Linked DNA regions of Homo sapiens: region 1 is linked to region 2. The links are contacts of gene promoters, found by promoter capture Hi-C in blood cells and fetal thymus (Javierre and others, 2016). All regions are on one chromosome and are shown on one strand. Each heading gives the region's core, a stretch centred on a gene start or on the middle of the fragment in contact. The rest is flanking DNA. Distances are from core to core; before and after follow the strand shown. Region 1 holds the start of EPAS1 (endothelial PAS domain protein 1). Region 2 holds the start of MSH6 (mutS homolog 6).

Evidence for each region. The method cuts DNA at HindIII sites, captures the fragments that hold promoters and counts their contacts. A CHiCAGO score of 5 or more calls a contact.
Region 1: a contact is called between the fragment with the promoter of EPAS1 here and the fragment with the promoter of MSH6 in region 2, in 1 of 17 cell types (neutrophils). The highest score is 6.7, in neutrophils.

The regions. Positions count from the first base shown.
Region 1 is chr2:46,293,774-46,299,630 of GRCh38, reverse strand. It overlaps EPAS1 (endothelial PAS domain protein 1), which reads right to left and starts at 2,224. Exons shown (of 16, transcript NM_001430.5): 1 at 1,694-2,224. The coding sequence starts at 1,719. RefSeq lists silencers at 1,631-1,960, 2,191-2,770. The HindIII fragment of the contact is 15,577 bases long and covers 1-5,857 here.
Region 2 is chr2:47,780,544-47,785,901 of GRCh38, reverse strand. MSH6 (mutS homolog 6) reads right to left here and starts at 2,757. Exons shown (of 10, transcript NM_000179.3): 1 at 2,409-2,757. The coding sequence starts at 2,668. RefSeq lists silencers at 1,975-2,064, 2,265-2,424, 2,705-3,184, 4,335-4,516 and an enhancer at 3,315-3,384. The HindIII fragment of the contact is 5,497 bases long and covers 1,100-5,358 here.

The DNA of each region.
Region 1 (5,857 bases), core at 975-3,474, 1.5 Mb after region 2:
ATAGGCATCGCAGTTGTAAAATACACAAGTTCCCTCCCCGGCTCCGGACCCGAAAGCGTCTGCAGGCGCTGTCTATAACTTTGCTTTTCGATGGTTCAGTCATTATTAGCATTATGATTGGTTTTTACAAAACGCACTGGAATCTTAAGAGTCTTTTCCTTGCTCTGCTGCCTTCAAAAGACATGGAACCCCAGGACTGCTCCGAGGGCCCTGGGAATGTGCCGGCTGCAGTCTCAGGGCTCCCTCACTTGTCTTGGGTCTGAGGGCGCGACGGTGACGAGAAAGGGGGGACTACGGCCAGGAAAGGGGAGCAGGGCCCAATCCCCTCCCCTAGCGATCCCGCAGTGAAGGGCCCGGGCGCCGAGCCAGGACAGGCGCGATTCGCTCCCGTTTATCAAATCCTTATCGGTGCCCCGAGGTGGGAACCGCTGCTTTCGACCGGAGGATACACGGTTTCTGGCTCCAGTCCCGTAGTGGAAGTTGGAACAAGAGCAAATCAACCTCGGCAGTGAGCCCTCCCGGCCAGTCACCTCCCTCCCTTAGCGAGTCGGTCCTCCTCATCCTCGCACCTCTATACCGCCGCTCCGCCGCTGGTTTCCCGCGGCTCAGGCGGTTCAGCCGGCCGCGCGTTGGATTCCAGCTTCCCGCAGCATAGCCTCGCCAAGCCGCGGCCAAGCGCGGGGCTGGAAGCTCCAGGCCACTGGGGCCGCACGGGTGGAGACAGGAGGAGAAAGGGGACAGGCGGCGAGCCGCACACATTTGCAGAAGTTGAGGCCCTGCCTGCTTCTGCGCGGCCGCGCAGAGGGCTCGAACCCTCGCTCGGGTAGCGCCGGGCCCGGCTGGACTGGGAGCGGCCGGGAGAGGGCGAGAGGGCAGCAAGAAATGGCCAGAGTTGCCTCTCACCCAGTGCCGAGAGGCTCGCGAGGGCAGGCGGGCAGATCGTGGCTGCCCTTCTCTGTCCTCTTCGGAGACAGACACCCGGACCTGCCAGGGACATCCAGTGTTGCCGTCCGCTTCCTACACACCGAACCATCTGCCCCCGCAGGGCAATCCAGGTCACTCACTACCTACTCTCCCCAGAGTCAAGGTGCGGCACGAGGAAGTGGGTTCTCCAACCTTCGGTGGGGTCTGGAGCCCGGCAGCGGGGCGCTCTGAAGGGTCCTGGCTCCTCGGTAGGATCGTGTCCCTGAGCCGCTCTCCGCCTCCCGCCCCCCTTTGCCCACTTGGGCCGCGGCGCGGGCACAGGAGCGCATTTGGAAGGACTCCGCGAATCCAGAGAAAAATAGAGACGTGGATGCTGCCCCAAAATGAGAGACCAGAGAAAGTCGAGGACATGCACCCACAAACATTTCCAAGCGCCGGTGGCCACGGTAATCTGCTGCGGGGCGGCTGGGAGATTTTCAAAGGCACCGCGGAAGCACCTCCGACCTCCAGGCCATCTCCCTCGGCCTCCTGGCCTCGCCGTGCGCGCAAATCCCCGACTCCTCCGAGCCGCAGAAGTCTCCACTGCAAAGCTGCTGATCCGCGCCCCCAAACCGGGCACATGCTCTCCCCCTCACAGCCCTCCAAACCGAGCCTCGAGCTCCGAAGACCTCTCAGCACTCTTCTCCCAACCACTCTCGGTCGCGCCTGCCCCGCGCAGCCCGGCCCTGGCCTCGGACCGGCCCCCTGATCGGCCCGGACGCCCGCTTACCTTTTCTTCTCCTTGTCAGCTGTCATTGTCGCTGTGGCCCTTTGAGACGTTCAGACGCCGAGCACCTGGGCTCCCTGGCGGGTGGGGGGCTGTGGCCCTCGTCCGCTCCCCGCGGCCCGGGCGGGTGGTGAAGGTCCGAGGTGCGCGCAGGTCCCGAGCGCCCCGCGCAGTCAGGTGGAAGGTGGCGCGCGGCGGGCTAGGTGCGGGGGCGGGGGTGGAGAAAGGTGACTGGGAGGAACCTGCGCGCGGAGGCGGGGTCCGGGGAAGGAGTGGGTGGAGGCTGTCAGACCCGAAAAGAGGACGGAGAGAAGGGAACCCAAGTTCCTTTTTCCCTGGAAAAGGAGTCACTTTTCTGAGTTTTCAAAGAAAAAAAAAAGTGGCTCGAATGCTGGGAGTCGGAAGGAGTCGGAGGCCGGGCTGAGCTGACCATACAGTCTCAGGACACTGCCGAGGATTGTACGGCCGCCTCAGGAGCGCTGGGGCGGAAGCGCAGCGGGCACCGGACCCGTGTGGCGGTCCGCTCGCGAGTGTAAAGCTCCCGCGGCCGGCAGCCCACTTTAAAAACTCCGTCGGCCGGCTTGGGGCGGGCACGGGGCGGGCGCGGAGGGCGGGGGGCGGGCACCGGCGCGGGTGTGTGGGCGGGCACGCGCCGGCAGGCCCCGCCCGCGCCGAGCTCCGGGCGGCTCACTGCGTCCCGGCCAATGGGGACGCGCGGCCGCAGCCTCTGCCCTGACCCTGGCCCGCCTCCTGCCCCCGCGCTGCGCCCCGCCTCCTGCCTCCGCACTTCGAGGACTTGTTTATGAGGTCGTCTGGGCGGCGGGTAGCGGGGTGGGACTCCGCGTCGGGGAGAGGCAGCCTGCGCAGGGCCGAGGGGCGGCCGGGAGCCGGGCTCCGGGATTGCTGCGGGGGACGGCAGTTGCGCCACAGCGTCGGTGTCCTCGTACCGGCGCCGTGCCCTTGGAACGAGGGCAGGACCGCGGGCAGCGCCGGGCCAGCGCGGAGCCCCTCCACGCTGCTGCGCTCCTGCGTCCCTGGCCCTCGGGCCAGGTGGGGATAATTTCTCGGCCCCCAGCGGCTGCGTTTCGGGCGTGGGCGATGCGCCCTTTTCGGTGGGACGCAGCTGACTTGACCGTCTGGGAGAAGCAGTGCAAGGAAATTGATCTAGGGCTGCGCCTACTCTTCCTTCCCTCTCCCAGCAGGGTGGTTGCTTACCGGCTTGTGCCAGGCGGTTTGGTTTTGGCGGGGATGCGGCAGAGGAGGCCCTTTGAGCCGCCCGAGGCCGGGGCGAGTTCAGAATTGGAGAAGTCAGTCTGGTTCCCCAGTGTGATCTTGGAGTGACAAGAGTTGGCCATGTGCCCTCAAGTCACTGCATCTCAGGCCTGCCCTCTCTGCCGCCAGGGTCGATGGAAGTCCTGGGAAACCCAAAGGCTACAGGTGTTGGAAATTTGTAGATTTAAGGGCTCACACAGGCAACGGTTAGCGCTCAGGGATTTTCCAGCGGCGCTTTTGACGCTGCCTTCCATCTCCGGGCCCAGTGCTCCCCTGCCCCGCGCTGAGCTGTCTCCCACTCGCTACCGGCGATGGGGAAGGGACATCTGGGGAGAGGACAGGGGACGCCCTTAGTTTTTGAAGGCTGTGGAAGGACCCATGAGTTTCACAGGTGTAACTTGAAGTTGGAAAGCGAGGGCCAAAGAACTGGTCTATATCTCTCCCTTTAGCCTCTTGCCACATTTTATACTAGAACGATCTACAGAAGCGATTTGAAGAGAAGGGTAGGTTTCAGCGCCATAATAAAAATGAACACGTGTTTTCCCCGTGTACACAGAAAGGGTTGGGGGAGATACTTTTCAGGAGCCTGGAGAAGGCGAAGTGGGGAGAGGGCAAAAACTGACGAAGAATTGGGAAATACTTTTTTTTTTTTTTTGAGACTGAGTCCCACTCTGTCGCCCAGGCTGGAGTGCTGTGGCCCCATCTCGACTCACTGCAACCTCCGCTTCCCGCGATTCTTGTGGCTCAGCCTCCGGAGTAACTGGAATTAAAGGCGCCCACCACCACCCTCAGCTAATTTTTGTATTTTTAGTAGAGACGGGAGTTTTACCATGTTGGCCAGGCTGGTCTCAAACTCCTGACCTCAAGTGATCTGCCCAACTTGGCCTCTCAAAGTATTGGGATTACAGGCGTGAGTCACTGTGCCCGGCCGGGAAGTAGACGTATTTTGTCATTTTCTCAGATCTCGGGGCACGGAGCACCTATACAGGTTGATAGTCAACGAATTCAAAGATTGCAAATCTCTCTCTAGCGAACTATTTCATGGGGCTGGTGGGTTTCAGGAACGGGGTGATTTGGTACTGGGCTTCTCCAGCCAGCCATTTCTAGTGGACACATTTATGTATTTTAATGAGTTCAAATTGGTAGATAGTTCTCCCTTAACCATAGGCTTATTTCCCTCACTTGGGACTAGAGTGCGGGAAAAGGGCACCTTGGTGGCTTCCAGGTGCCTACAGTAGTTCACCACAACAGCCTCTGAGTCCTGGACTGTGCTTGACAGATCGAGGCAACACCTCCAACCCATAGAGAACATAGCCTTTTAGATCTTGTTTTTAAAGAGGAAAGGCAAGGAGGGGTCACTCAAGACCACATCAACCTAAGAAGACATGGACACATGGGAGGAACAGCACAGACTGGGGCGTGTCAGAGGGTGAGGGGTGGGAGGAGGGAGAGCATCAGGAACAATAGCTAACGGATGCTGGGCTTAATACCTAGGTGATGGGATGATCTGTGCAGTGGACCACCATGGTACACATTTACCTATGTAACAAACCTGCACATCCTGCACATGTACCCCTGAGCTTAAATGTTAGAAATTCCATCAACCATGTTATATAGCTCCTTCCTCTTGGCCAGACTGCACCCTATAAGTGAAGGATCCCCAGGCTAACACAAACAGCTGGCATTGAGTCTGGGATTTTTTTTTTTTCTTTAGACAATCTCACTCTGTTGCGCAGGTTGGAGCGGAGTGGCACGATCTTGGCGCACTGCAACCTCCACGTCCCGGGTTCAAGCTATTCCCCTGCCTCAGCCTCCCAAGTAGCTAGGACTACAGATGTGCACCACCATGCCCGGCTAATTTTTGTATTTTTAGTAGAGATGGAGTTTTGCCATGTTGGCCAGGCTGGTCTGGAACTCCTGGCCTCATGTGATCCACCCACCTGGGCTTCCCAGAGTGCTGGGATTATACGCATAAGCCACCGCACCTTGCCAAGTCCGGGATTTTGGCAGTGTCTGAGATACACCAAAAACTCATTATAATAACTCTCAAAAGGGTTGCACCCAGCCTTGCTTAGAGCAGAGCCGGGTGGCCTGAGATTTCTTCCAGGACTCAGCTCAATAACCTTTGCAGGAAGGAGCTGAGAGTGTAAACCAGATGCAGGCTGTGGCTAGGGTGCATCCAATTTTACTTTTTAGAGCCTGTGGAGAACTAGAGGAGAAAAACTTTGAAAGGTGATGCTGGGGCAGTGAGTGGGGGATGGGGAGCTGGGTCCCCGGATTCAGAGGGGTGTCTTTAGAGACACTGATGTTGTGGCCACAGAGGGCAGCAGAGGACACCGGTAGGCAAAGCTCCCAAGCTGCTTAAAATAGGAGCAAACTGCCCACCTCCCAGCAAATCTCCCTACCTGCCCCCCAACCCTGTATTGGATGGTTTGGGAACAAAAGCTGTGGCACCAGTGAAACACCTATTTGTTTTGACAAGGGACAAATCTGATTCTCTTGCTTCCTCTTTTCTTTGTAGGGTGTGCCCTCAGGAGGATGGGATAGAGATAAAGTGTGAACTTACAAACCTGGCAGAGAGCAGGCACCTGGGATGCAGTGGGCTGGTGGAAGAAAGATGGCCTCAGTACTCCCATCGAAGTAACAGTATGTTCCAGGATGCAGTTGGAAATTAGGTTGGAATGGATGGGATCTAACAGGAACAGCTCTTGGAAGGATGGGCTATCTCATTAGTACCTTACAACTTCCAATGCATTGTCACATATTGGAGTTGGGACCAGGGTGAGGCAAAAGAGGCCTTTAAGAGTCATGCAAGTACACTGGCCTCTGTCCTGCCACATGCCTTATCTCACGTAATACCCATCTGACCCTTGTCTGGCTATTTAGTTGGTTTCG
Region 2 (5,358 bases), core at 1,508-4,007:
GGAGGTGAAATGTATACGTTTTATTTTTACAAGTCTCTTAAACTCAACCTCAAGAAACAAATAACATACGCTATTCAATATGAATGTAAAGTACATCCTTACAATAAATACACCCGTTTGGTTTGGATTCAACAATCAATTCATGCTCAAGTAAACAATACGTCATGCTTTTCTAACCAGGAGTTTGTTATTGCGGATGCTGGCTCTGTTCCCCACAAGCATATTCTACTAATGCACAACTATATATATTTAAACTGCGGGAAAGGGTCGCTTAAACAAGGGTAACACTATAATTACACTTAGAAAAATCTCAGAATTCCTTTAGGACACTTTAAACTGGATTTAAATGGATTTGAAATCCATTACTCAAAACCACTAACTAGCGGCCGGGCACGGTGGCTCACACCTGTAATCCCAGCACTTTGGGAGGCTGAAGTGGGTGGACCACTTGAGGTCAGCAGTTTCAAGACCAGCCTGGCCAACATGGTGAAACTCCATGGTGAAAAATCAGCCGGACCGCGGTGGGCACACCCGTAATCCCAGCTACTCGGGAAGCTGAGGCAGGAGAATCACTTGAACCCGGCGGGCAGAGGTTGCAGTGAGCCGAGAAAGCGCCACAGCACTCCAGCCTGGGCGACAGAGCGAGACTCCATTTCAAAACAAAACCAAACAAAAAACACGAACTGGCTCTTATCTTGAATGAGTTATTTTTTCTGAGCCTTTATTTCTTCGTTTGTTCAAATAGCGACCATTAAACTTTGTGTTTAGTATCTGACAAACGGCCGGGCTCGGTGGTTCATGCCTGTAATCCCAGCACTTTGGTAGGCCAATGCGGGCCGATCAAGAGGTCAGGAGTTCGATACCAGCCTGGCCAACATAGTGAAACCCGTCTCTACTAAAAATACAAAAATTAGCCAGGCGTGGTGGGGCGCACCTGTAGTCCCAGCTACTTGGGAGGCTGAGGCAGGATAATCTCTTGATCCAGAGACAGAGGTTGTGGTGAGCCAAGAACGCGCCACTGCACTCTAGCCTGGACAAAAGAGCAAGACTCTGTCTCAAAATACATATATATGTATCTGGCAAACAGCAAAAGCAAGCTTTTCAAAATGTCGCCAGCTGCCCGGATAAAAAGCCCTAAACAGACCGGGCGCGGTGGCTAGCGCCTGTAATCCCAGCACTTTGAGGCCGAGGCGGGTGGATCACCTGAGGTCGGGAATTCCGAGACTAGCCTGACCAACATGGAGAAACCCCGTCTCTACTAAAAATACAAAATTGGCGGGGTGTGGGGGCGCATTCCTGTAATCCCGACTACTCGGGAGGCTGAAGCTGGGGAATCGCTTGAAGCCGGGACGCGGAGATTGCGGTGAGCTGAGATCGCGCCATTGCACTCCAGCCTGGACTTGAGCGAAACTCTCTCTCAAAAAGGAAAAAAAAAAAAAAGCACTTAACTGCCCATAAAGTGAGGACAACTCCCGACAGGCTTCCCCGGAGTCACTCACGTCCACACATCTTTGTCCAGCGCCCGATTAAGGCCTCTAAAAGCCCAGTGGTGCCCCATAAAAATTACACTATTTCATAAAATAAAATATTTTCCACTCGACACGAATTTCCACATACGTCAAAATATTCTATCTTCGTCTCGGTGCACGTGCAGCCTACCTACCGAAGGACCCAGCCGGATCCCAGCACTTCGGCTCCCCACGGCCCCGCCCCGCCCAATTAGGCCCCGCGGTCCCCATGGTGACACACCCCCCCGCGCTCGCAGCTCGTGGCCCACCCCCTCGGCGGCCCCTCACCTAGGCCGAAGGCCCACCGTCCCCAAGGCGTCTCGGCGACCGCGGCTCTTAACTACCTCTAAGTGTCTACCTCGATCGACTACTGGAGCCCCAACTCACTATCTCCGCGCCGGCCGAGGAACCTCCTTTCGCACCCCACACCACCGGACTCTCCCCGTTCGGCCTCCCGCAGGCATTCCTCCTTCCCGCCACCCCGCCCCCCGCCCCGCCCACCAAGTGGGCCGGGCGCCTTCCCCTTCTCGCCCCACCCCCAGTGCTCCCACCTCCCAGGCCCCCTCCCCACCCGGAGCTGCGCGCGTCGCCCCTTCCTTAGCCCAGCACCCCCACCTGGCGGGACGCGTCTCCTCCCTCCAAAAGGCCCGAACTCTCCGCGTCTCCCCTGCAGCCCTCTTCCTGCACAGCCTCTCTCCTCCGACCCTGTTTACAAGCTACACCCCCAAATGCTCCAGACTCGACCCCTGCACTCATTCAAGCCAACTCTGCGGCCCCGCCTCCTCCGAGCCCAGGGCCAGGCCGTGCACCCCCCCAACCCCCTGTGCGAGCCTCCCCTCGCCGGGTTCCAAGCGCCCCGCCGCTATGCCCCCGCCTTCGACCCCACCCCCACCCCGCTACCTGGTGGGGGCAGCAGGCGCTACCGATCTCCGCAGCCCTCCGTTGAGGTTCTTCGCCTTGGGCGGTGACGCGGAGCGCGCCAAGGGCCTGGGCCCAGGCCCAGCCTCGCTCCAGGCCGCATCCCCGCCTGGGGAAGGAGAGGCCCCGGGGGCAGCGGCGGCACGGCCGCCTTCGCGTGAGGCCCTGGCCGAGGCCTTGTTGGCATCACTCAGCGCCGGAGACTTGGGGAAGAAGCTGTACAGGGTGCTCTGTCGCGACATACCGACAGCCGGCAAGGCCCAACCGTTCTGTCGGACGGAGCTCCTAAAAGCACCGCATCTACCGCGCGGCTCCTGCTGGCGGGAAATCTGGGGGGAGGCGCGCTCCGCCGGAGGAACCCGGGCCCCAGTGGCCAATCAACAGGCGCCTCGCCGTGCGCGGGCGGTGCGCGCCAGGCCCCGCCCCCGGGCGCGCGGCGACGTGGGGAAGGGCGGGGCTGGCACACTGGTGGGTAGGGGCGGGGCTGGCACGCTGGCGGTGAGGGGCCCGCCCTGCCGCCGACGCCTGGGCCCCGCGCGGGGAACTGCTGAGCTCCCCTTCCCTCACGCCGCGGGGCTGGCCGGGCCGGAACACTCCGACCCGGGGTTAGTTGCGGCCGCGGGGCTAGCAGGCTCGGAAAGCCCTGCCTCTCTGGAGCGGAAGCGGGAACAGCGGGGGCGCGCACCGCCCGGGCGGGGATAACCGGGGGGACCCGAAAGGCCTCGGAAAGGGGCTCGCGGGGAGAAACGCGTCCAGCGCTCGCGTGACCTCCTGCCGTTAGAGCATTTTCGCAAGGAGACGGAGCGAAAGGGACCAAACTTTAGTCAGCAGTTCACCTTCACGTTGTATTCTCAAGATTTGTATAGAGTAGGCACTTGGTAAACGCTAAATGAATATTGTAATAGCATTCGTTAGCGATGCTGTTGTGTATGGTGAAAGCCTGCAGCTGTACAAAGTTTTCCTTTGCCAGGCACTGATCCCAGCATTTTACATCTGGTAACTAAATCGATCCTCTCAATAACCTGTGACGTAAGTACTTAAGGGCCACAGTCCGTTATCTGAGCCCTTTGACCCAGGTGTGTCTTTACAGGATTTTTCAAATTTTAGAAAGCTAAGAGACTATGAGAGGCCGGGCGCAGTGGCTCACGCCTGTAATCCCAGCACTTTGGGATGCCGAGGCGGGCGGATCACCTGAGGTCAGGCGTTGAAGACCAGCCTAGTCAACATGGTGAAACCCCCGTCTCTACTAAAAATCCAAAAATTAGCCGGGCGTGGTGGCATGCGCCTGTAATCCCAGCTACTTGGGAGGCTGAGGCAGGAGAATAACTTGAACCTGGGAGGCAGCGTTTGCAGTGAGCCAAGGTCGCGCCACTGCACTCCAGCCTGGGCGACAAGAGCGAAACTCCGTCTCAAAAAAAAAAGAAAGAAAGCTAAGAGGCTATGAGAATAAAAAGGTTCTATTCAAATTCAAGAAAGATAGTGGAAGACAGACAATTGTTTGTCCCCTTATCCAGATTGTGAAATCCAGATTGCCGGAAACCAGTCACAATCAACAGCTGTACATTGGTAAAAACCTATGTAAAATTAGTTGTTTGCCTTGTTCTTGGAGACTGTTCTGCCAGAAGGTTCTCCTTTGCTAGGCAAGTAATAAAATCAATCTAAAAAAAAAAGGCGGGGGCCGGGCGCAGTGGCTCACGCCTGTAGTCCCAGCACTCGGCACTTCGGGGGGGGGGCGGAGGTGGGCGGATCACGAGGTCAGGAGATCGAGACCATCCTGGCTAACACAGTGAAACCCCGCCTCTACTAAAAATACAAAAAATTAGCCTGGCGTGGTAGCACACGCCTGTAGTCCCAGCTACTGGGGAGGCTGAGGTAGGAGAATGGTGTGAACCCGGGAGGCGGAGCTTGCAGTGAGCCGAGATCGCGCCTCTGCACTCCAGCCTGGGCGACAGAGCAAGACTCCCTCTCAAAAAAAAAAAAAGAATATTGCCAAAGGTGGTATGTGCTAAGAAAAATACAGTATGCTTCACGAATTTGCATTTCATCCCTGTGCAGGGGTCATTCCAATTTTGGTATATGTGCTACCCAAGCAAGCACAGTGAAACCAACTGTTTGAGATAATATTTGAGAGTTGGTCTCTTTCCCCCACCGGCATACGTAAACACCCCCAGAGAGTCTGGGGGAACATGCTGAAATCAAACATGCAGTAAAACTTACATGCTTATTCATACTAAGTAGAAAGAATACAGAATATAGACTATAAATAGCCTCAGGTCAAAATTTGCTACCAAATGAGTTTACCCCCAAACTTTTGGTTTACAGAGCTTTTTGGATTTCAGAATTGCACGTAAGAGGCTGGTTATCCTGTATCTCCATATCATGGATGAAGCTGAGGCACAGTTGGGTCAAGTAACTTGCCCATGACTGCATAGCTAGGAAGTGGTGGAGCCTGGATTTAAACTCAAGGAAGCTGGTTCTGGAGCCCTATGTTGTTAACAGAAATACTATAATACTTCCAATTTAACACCATTTTATCTCATTTAGTTATTACAACCACCTTATACTAGGTTGAACTATGTGAAATTGCCAAAATTTGCCCTTTTTAAAATTTTTTTGAGACAGGGTCTGGCTCTGTCACAGAGGCTGGAGTATAGTGGCGTGATCTTGGCTTACTGTAGCCTCAACCTCCCAGGCTTAAGTAATCCTCTCACCTCAGCCTCCTGAGTACCTGGGACCACAGGCCCGCAACACCATGCCCAGCTAATTTTTTTTTTTTTTAATTGAGGAGTCTTATTCTGTCACCCAGGCTGGAGTACAGTGACGCCATCTTGGTTCACTGCAACCCCTGCTTTGCGGGTTCAGGCAATTCTCATGCCTCAGCCTCCTGAGTGCTAGGATTACTGGTGCCTACCACCATGCCCAGCTAATTTTT